Linked DNA regions of Homo sapiens: regions 1 and 2 are each linked to region 3. Evidence: promoter capture Hi-C in human tissues and cell types (Jung and others, 2019). All regions are on one chromosome and are shown on one strand. The core of a region is centred on a gene start or on the middle of the fragment in contact, and the rest is flanking DNA. Distances in the headings are between cores, read along the strand shown. Region 1 overlaps RANBP3L (RAN binding protein 3 like). Region 2 has its middle 46 kb from the start of RANBP3L. Region 3 holds the start of RANBP3L (RAN binding protein 3 like).

Region 1 (2,700 bases), core at 113-2,612, 39 kb after region 3:
TGACCCTGTGTGAGAATGGGGACAGCAATGAGGGAGCCAGGGGCCAGAGTCAGTAGTCAAAAAAGAGGCAGGGATTTTCTCTACATCGCCAACTGGTCAACATCACAGTGTATCGTTGCCAGTTTAGGTCATACCAGAGGTTCATTTCAGAGCCAAATTCCAGTATAACAGGAGCAGAGAACTCCCTATACAGTGTAGTTGGGAGGGTTTGGGAAGCCTCTAGAGACAGATAAGAATTCTAACTTCCAACTATGTAGTGTCTGAATCACTCTTTGTAGGCCTTTCTAAACAGACAGTAACTTACACAAGCCGTGCAGATATGGGTTTGGGGATATATTCAATTGCTGTAGTGCTACCTGTCTTCCAGCAGAAGCAGACACAGGAGGAATAGGACTCAAGATAGGTAGGTTGGAATTTGAGAGTTATTCCATCTTAGCCATTTGTTTCCAGCTGAACTACTGAGGATTGGTCACATAGTTTCGCTTTGTTTTCCCTTAGTGAACATAAGGACAGAAACACGGAAGTGTAAAAAAATACCAGATTGGTACTAATCTTGCCTCTGCTGCTATCTTTGTTTATCTAAACAAAGCACCCATTCAACATCTTTTTATATCAGCAAAGTAAGGGACTTGAACTTGATCAGCACTTTCCAATATTTTTATATTCCTAAACTCTTTACTTTGTAAGATATTATTTGGAGAGATCCATTATGAATTTAAAAAATCATTTCATCATTTATGCATGCTATATAAGTAATTTTTAAGTAAAACATGTCTTCAATTTTAGATAAGTATATTATTGTTTTCACTTAAATATAATGTAATAATTATCACCATGTTACATAATTCCTTACTTTTATTTAAGAAGTGAAGTGGCCAGGCGTGGTGGCTCACTCTTTTAATCCTAGCACTTCGGGAGGCCGAGATGAGTGGATCTCTTGAGCTAAAACGTTCCAGACAAGCCTAGGCAATATAGTAAAACACTGTCTTTACAAAAAATACAAAAATTAGCTGGGCATGGTGGCATGTGCCTGTAGTCCTAGCTTGAACCCGGGAAGTGGAGGTTGCAGTGAACCGAGATGGTACCAGCCTGGTGACAGAGCCAGACTGTCTCAAAAAAGAAAAGAGAAAAAAGAAGTGATGCATGGTGTTTAACTTGTTTTAAATTATGTAATAGAAAGTATAATATGTTGACTAATTTCTAAAAAGTTATATTGCATTTGATTTTAAAATGGCATGCACTATAAATATAGAGCAAGATTTTAATTACATGTTATGACATCAAAAATACATCAATATTTCTTTCTTGGCAGAATTTTTGTAAATATTGCATTGCATATTTTAAAATAAAATTTATTAATATATTTCTTCCATTTTCTTCTTAAATGATCCAAGCTTAAGAGAAAATTTCAAGCTATTGTTTATATTTATTTTTGAATAAATTATAAGGTCTAGGGAATAAACCTTATTTCCAGTTATTGAAAAGCCCTACTGTATATGCCCATCATTAAAAAGAAAATTTAATGCCCATCATTAAATTTTCCATTTATTGATCTTTGAAGATCCAGAGACACACTGTATATAAGATCCTATGTAAGAATTTTGACCAAATGAATGTAATTTAAAGATTTTGTGAAAACTATCTCTAGGTGGATTTTGTAGAACCATTATCTTTATATTTCTTATTATCTTGTATATCAAAATCAGATAAATTATTTTCATCCTATCATTAATCAATGGTTACTTACTATGTATAGATTAAACAATATATGCCTAAATAACTATTTTAACCAACATAGGAGTGAAAACTACCATTTTGGCTGAGAGATACATTATCTGAATGACTAGGTAATGAGCATGTACTTCGATCTTTGCCAACCATGGCACATGCTCTCTTGATACATATTTGTCAGTTGTCAAACTCTTGTTAAAAAAGAAAAAGTACTCAAAATTATTTTTATTGATTGAAATAAAAATTTAAGTGGAAACATAACCCATCTGGCTTTAAAAGACACAAACGCCCTGAAACATCTTTGCAAATTCCTGGTCGAGGAAGGAATTGTAAATACTAGATCAGATAATGTATAGGGTTCCTTCCAATTCTAAATTTCCTCACTCTTACATTTATATATTAATTCAGGTATTGTGCATACACATATGTACATAAGGCAAAGTAACTGGATAAGTTACTAGTTGAAAATTTCAAGATAAATAGATGAGTGGGGTTTTCTCTCACATTGGGTGACTAGGATGGTGACATTCTTAGGGTGTTTCCCAGGATTAAATAGTCCTGAAAAGAGCTTTACTAATCCAGAAATGAGAATTAACCCAATTTGACTAAAATGGCAAAAATAAACAAAACATGGTGGGATTTCTGAATATTATGATATTCCGGTATTAGACAGATCGCCACTGTATGTGACCTGGGCAAATTATTTAAGTTTTTTGTGTCAGTTTACTCACCTGTAAAATGTGGACAATAGAATTACAAAGTGTTAGAGTTGTAAGGAGTAAATGAGATCGTACATAAAATGCTTAAGGCAGTACTTAAACATAGTAAGCTTTCAATATATTTAACTATAACTATTGTTTCCTTGTCTGATGGTCCTATAGTAAGGTAGTCTTTATAAACTTTTTGATGGATTTCTTTACTTTCAGATTTCTGAGGGAAATTCCTATTTGTTAAGTGAAAATTTATCAA
Region 2 (2,700 bases), core at 124-2,623, 46 kb before region 3:
TGTTTGGGACTGTGTTTGGGACCCTTAAGGATCTCAAAACTTGAGTGTGTATCAGAAATGCATAGGATGCTATTAAAATACAGATTTCCAGGTCTCAACCCCAGCAATTTTGAACCATATGATGTGAGGCCCAGACATAGGCATTTTAAAGAAACTCAGCAAATGATCCTAAGTTTGGTTAGAGTCTTATTTTAAGAAACATTCTTGGCTGGGCGCGGTGGCTCACGCCTGTAATCCCAGCACTTTGGGAGGCCGAGGTGGGCGGATCACGAGGTCAGGAGATCGAGACCATACTGGCTAACACGGTGAAACCCCATCTCTACTAAAAATACAAAAAATTAGCCGGGCGAGGTGGCGGGCACCTGTAGTCCCAGCTACTCGGGAGGCTGAGGCAGGAGAATGGCGTGAACCCGGGAGGCGGAGCCTGCAGTGAGCCGAGATCGCGCCACTGCACTCCAACCTGGGCGACAGCGAGACTCCGTCTCAAAAAAAAAAAAAAAAAAAAAAAAAAAGAAACATTCTTTATTATAGCATACTTCTAAAAATAACAACAATAATAATAATATACACCCCAGACCTTAGCCTAATGATATTTATTTTCATTCATCAGTAAAATATGACTTCAGGCTGAGTCCTGGGTGGAGAGAGGTGGCTAGAATTTCTTAAATCCTTAAATACTGTCTGAATTGGTCATGTTCTGGAATGAAAACTGGGTAAGTCTGCAGGTTGATTTAAGTGGTCAACTTGGGGAAGAGGGGAGCCAATGAAAGTATGATAAGGAGTCAGATGGAGACTTCCTTAAGGAGAATTCTACATGCCTGTCAGGGCTTTTTGGTGAGGTTGCTGTCACTGTTTATTAATTTTAGCTAATTTTATTTCAAAACACAGATTTTATTTGGGCTTTAAAATGTTTTATTCATACTACTCTAATGTTTAAAAGCCATCAGTAGGTGAAATGAAATGAAATCAAGAGGGAAGTGAAGAATAAAAGAGAAAGGAAAGAAGTTTTTCTCCAGTAAACAGGTAAGGGCTGGTTTAAAGAAAGAAAGGTAAAACACGCTTAAAGAGAATCTGCCTGGAATCAGTTTATGAGCGCTGCAGCCCAGCTTGTCTCTGTTGTGGTCCCTACCCTGTGAGATGAAAACAGTGTTACAAAAGTGAGACACCAGCTGAAGTCCCAGCAAAAGCTTGTCTGCCACTCTAGTCCTAAGGAACCTGGATCCTTCCACTCCACAAGGCTCCCTACTACGGACTGAATGCTGTGTCACCCACACCCTAACTTCATATGTTGAGGCCTAATCCCCAGGGCGATGGCATTTGGAGGTGGGGCTTTGGGGAGATATTACTTTTAAAAATTGCTAAAACCGAAATTACTTTTGCAACAACCTAATAATTACATCATGGCAGTGAGAAGACTGCCATCTGCAAGCCAGGAAGCAGGCCCTCGACAGACATTAAATCTGCCAGCACCTTGATCTTGGATTTCCCAGTCTGCAGAACTGTGATAAATAAGTGTTTGTTGTTTAAGTCACCCAGTTTATGGTGTGTGTGTTATAGCAGCTCAAATGGACTAATACAGTCCCTAGGACAGAACTGAGTACATATGAACCCCTTCCTAATGTATGGTTGATTATTTACATTACTTCACACTCATCATCTAAAGAAAGCTCCAAAGAGCAGGGACTTTGTCTGCTTACTGCTGTATCCTTAATTTTTAAAAATTGCCCAAAGATGTAGTTCTTGATGTTTTGAATAAAAGATTATATAAACAGCAAATCCAACATCTCAGGAGCTCACAGCCAGGAAGAAAGATGTTGTTTCAAGCAACGGGCAGTGAGTTCTGACAGAGACAGCTGGAAAAATATGAAAAAGACCATGCTTTTCTGGTAAGCTTTATTTTTCTTATCTCTAGTATAAACATACTTAATTTGGTAAAGAAAAACTGAATTCTAGCAACTTATAAATTATATGCCGGCATGTACAAGTCTAAAGAGCCAAAGTCATTGTAATATATGCTAAGGGCAAAGGGAAATAGTCAATAGCTTTGTTAGAATGTCTTCAGGTCTTTGAGTTTGGACAAGGTAAACCTCAATATAATAATATTTTCTGAAAAGTGAACTTCACAAAACAAATGACAAAGCAATGATTCATTCATATACTTCACATTCAGAGTTTATTTACAATTGAATATGTTGACATTACCTCTGCTAGAATGGCTTTTTAGACTTCTTTGAGAGGTCTGTGAGAAACCTGTTTAGATGAAATGAGAATTTATGCGGTCAAAAATATTTTTAAGGCCTGAAGACACCCTTGATGCAGCCCCTTTCCTTCATCACTAAAATGTATCTCTGTACTTCCTGCTTCTGGTCAACAGCCAGAGAAAGATGGGGCAAAAGGTGTTGCCCCAGCACAAGCAGAAGGCAGTCAGTAATTGAAGCTGTGTAAAATGCATGTTCTGCCTTACAGTCTTTCTTAGTTTAATATTTAGAATCCAGGGCATTACATTTTCCTGATAACAACAGCAAAATGGGCGTTTTATACAGGCTTGCAGCTAATCTTATTAAAATGAGACAAAGGCAAAATTTCCACCTATTTTTCCTGGAAAAGAAAATACCTGGAGAAACTGTACTTAAAGATGTAATGCAAAAGCATTAAATAAAACCATTTGGTCAATAAAATTTAGCAGCTAAAATTAAGGTG
Region 3 (2,700 bases), core at 5-2,504:
GCTATTCTCTCCTATTCATGTATTTTTAAATTTTTTCATCATAAAACATTTTAAATGTATTTCTCAAAAGGGCTGGCTTACAGTTTTGTAGGTTATTTAACTTACCTGTATAATAATATGCTTATTAGTGAGGTACATAACTTGATAGAATAACAATAACTTTACATATTCAGGAAAAATCACCTTGTCTCTCCACCATGGCTTTTGTGGAAGATGAGATGAATAGCAGACATTTAAAGTAGAAACTATGACTCTCCAATAACAAGACTCTCTTTCAAAGTAGCACAACACTTCTGTCATCTGTTACACTGTGATTAGCCTAAAACTGCAGTAGATAGACTACTGAAACAATTAAAGCATTCAAGAATTATAAAAGATCAATCACCTACTTCATAAAAATTTTCATAAACCAGACTATACTTGGGGAATTGTTAATTGCCTCAAAGTAAAATGAGGGCAGCCACCCAGATCTGGTTAGGAGGTAAATTCATTACAGTGTCAAGTTTAACACCAATTTCCAAATGCACATAAGAAGCTGCAGAGTCCAGACTTCGAGGCTAAACAGCTCTGCCTTTCTCCTTAGTCCTGCCCACTACCTTCTTTCTGAATCTGCGAAGAGCTGTGACTCTTGAAGGGCAGGACCTACCAGCATTCATTATGACTTCAGTTATGGCAAGCTCTCAAGTTAAATTAATGGTGTTTGGGGTTTATGTTTCCAAACAGTAAGGAAATAGCCAACGAGTAAAACTGGAAATTACTTTCTCCTATGACCTAGAAGTAGCAATAAGAACTCTAAGTGGGAAACAGAAATAGGACTCTGGAAAGATAATGTTTTGTGTGTTTATTTTTCTTCCAGAACTCCAAATAGTTGCCTTGGCAGGAAGGCTGCCCTCTAACTGCTCCCTTCCGAAGACTAGGAGGTGTTTACAGAAATTGAAAGTTCCAGCAGTACATTTCCATGAGCTCATTACCAGTTCCATTTATACCTTTTAGATTTCACATGCACAAATGAATGTCCTTGCAGTATAAACTCCTGCTTTCAGCTTGCATTTTAATTACAAACAAAGTAGCAGAAATCAGGTACTCAGTTACTGTAACATAAGGGCAGGGCATCTTTAGAATCTGTGCTTTGTTCACTATTATTCAAAGCAGCTCCAATGCCCGTCTTGCCTGCCTCTTTATGCTAATCATCCTAGCCCACTTTGCTCCTCCTCCTTCCAGAGTCCCTTAAGAACTGTACACTTTCAGCTGTCACAGAGGGTAACTCAGATCAGGCTTAGAAATCACTTGACTTAACTCAGCAGCACTTTTTCTTTTCTTTGTGTCTGTATTATTTTAGCAGCCTTCTCTAAATACTGGAGGCATTGGATTTCATGTCGCCAAAAGGAATTTAAAAATGACAAAAGTGTAATCTGTTAGAAATAGTTAATTTGTAGAATTTTACTCTATAAGGAGGTTTAGTTTCAATTTGTTTTGAAATGAAGGAATTAAGTTGTGTTTTTAACCAAATGAATTGGCATCTTTATATTTAGGAGAAGTAACATTGGTGATTATTTATTTCAAGAATCATGACTGGAAAAAGCTTGGAAGTTTAGTAGAGGAGTATATGTTGTACATGCAAAGACAAGATCTGCATGAATCTATGTATTTCTGGGTGTCTGGTGAAGGCCACTTTAGGTGACTGGCCAGAGAAGGAGGTGCCCTAGTGATCCTTGAGTCACAGCCATACTGCTAGGACCATGACTACCATACCAAGAAAAGGCAGCAGCCACCTGCCTGGCAGTTTGCACACCTGTAAACTGAAGCTGCAGGAGGACCGGCGACAGCAAGGTGAGTCCGTCCAGCTCATGAGTTGCATATTCTGTGACCTTCTGTGCATTTGCATTCCAGGAAGAATGGTGGGCTGGTGAAGGACCCGGGGAAGCTCTGACATAATAGTGATGCATAAGGGTGGGTTAACTTGGATTCACTATTGATTTTTAGAGGACTATGGAAGACTGTCAAGAATGCATATTCCTTGGAGCTGTCATTCTGAAACTTACATGCTTAAACTTCTAGCCACTGTGTTTTTTAGAGTATGCTAGATTTTGTCTAATTCAAAACACCCATCTGAGCAAGGCTGAGTCAGCTACAAGGGGGATTTCAGCTGAGAGTAGCTTTAAGTTAGCCTGGAGCTTTCTCTACCATAGTACCACTGGTGGGACACTTTTTTCACTTTGTTTAAGCCTAAGTTTGTCTGGATCTCTGGCTCATTCATTGTGGGAAAAATAAATATATTCTTGACTCTTTCCTTTTTATGGTCCAGGGACATCTGGAGACAGTCAGGGAAAAGTGTCACATTTCACTTGCTGGGCACTCATTCAAACTAAACTATCTACCTCCCAGCCATTTTCACCATCAGTCTTTTTAAATTTTCAAATCCACTCTCCAGCCAGCTGAGTTAGTGTCAGATGGTTGACATGAATAGACAAGATGATCCCTCCAATCCACCCTGTCAGGGACAGCAAATGACACTTGTGGGAAAGGCTGGGTCTCTCATGGATGACATCATCACTCCACAGAGGTTAAGGATTCACCAGACACTTCTAACTTCTCCTCAATAACCTAGGATAGATCTTTTTATGTGTAGGTCTAGGCAATGAGCTCTTTAATTATTTTTCTGTAGACGCAGTTTTAGATTTCAGTGGTGTGGAGAGTGTT

What was found. Contacts are between HindIII fragments. The study calls those that stand out against the background at their distance.
Region 1: a contact is called between a fragment that was not itself captured here and the fragment with the promoter of RANBP3L in region 3, in 3 of the 25 tissues and cell types used here (dorsolateral prefrontal cortex, hippocampus and liver).
Region 2: a fragment that was not itself captured here is called in contact with the fragment with the promoter of RANBP3L in region 3 in 1 of the 25 tissues and cell types used here (hippocampus).

Annotation. Positions count from the first base shown.
Region 1 is chr5:36,262,000-36,264,699 of GRCh38, reverse strand. It overlaps RANBP3L (RAN binding protein 3 like), which reads left to right. Exons shown (of 14, transcript NM_145000.5): 7 at 2,658-2,700. The region is part of intron 1 of LOC124900962 (a long non-coding RNA gene); the gene reads right to left. Among named protein-coding and RNA genes, the nearest start is that of NADK2, 21 kb to the right of the region's middle. The HindIII fragment of the contact is 4,445 bases long and covers 1-2,700 here.
Region 2 is chr5:36,346,246-36,348,945 of GRCh38, reverse strand. It overlaps a transcript of LOC124900962 not described here. Among named protein-coding and RNA genes, the nearest start is that of RANBP3L, 46 kb to the right of the region's middle. The HindIII fragment of the contact is 4,153 bases long and covers 1-2,700 here.
Region 3 is chr5:36,300,456-36,303,155 of GRCh38, reverse strand. RANBP3L (RAN binding protein 3 like) reads left to right here and starts at 1,254. Exons shown (of 14, transcript NM_145000.5): 1 at 1,254-1,830. The coding sequence starts at 1,740. All of the region lies in intron 1 of LOC124900962 (a long non-coding RNA gene), which reads right to left. The HindIII fragment of the contact is 10,640 bases long and covers 1-2,700 here.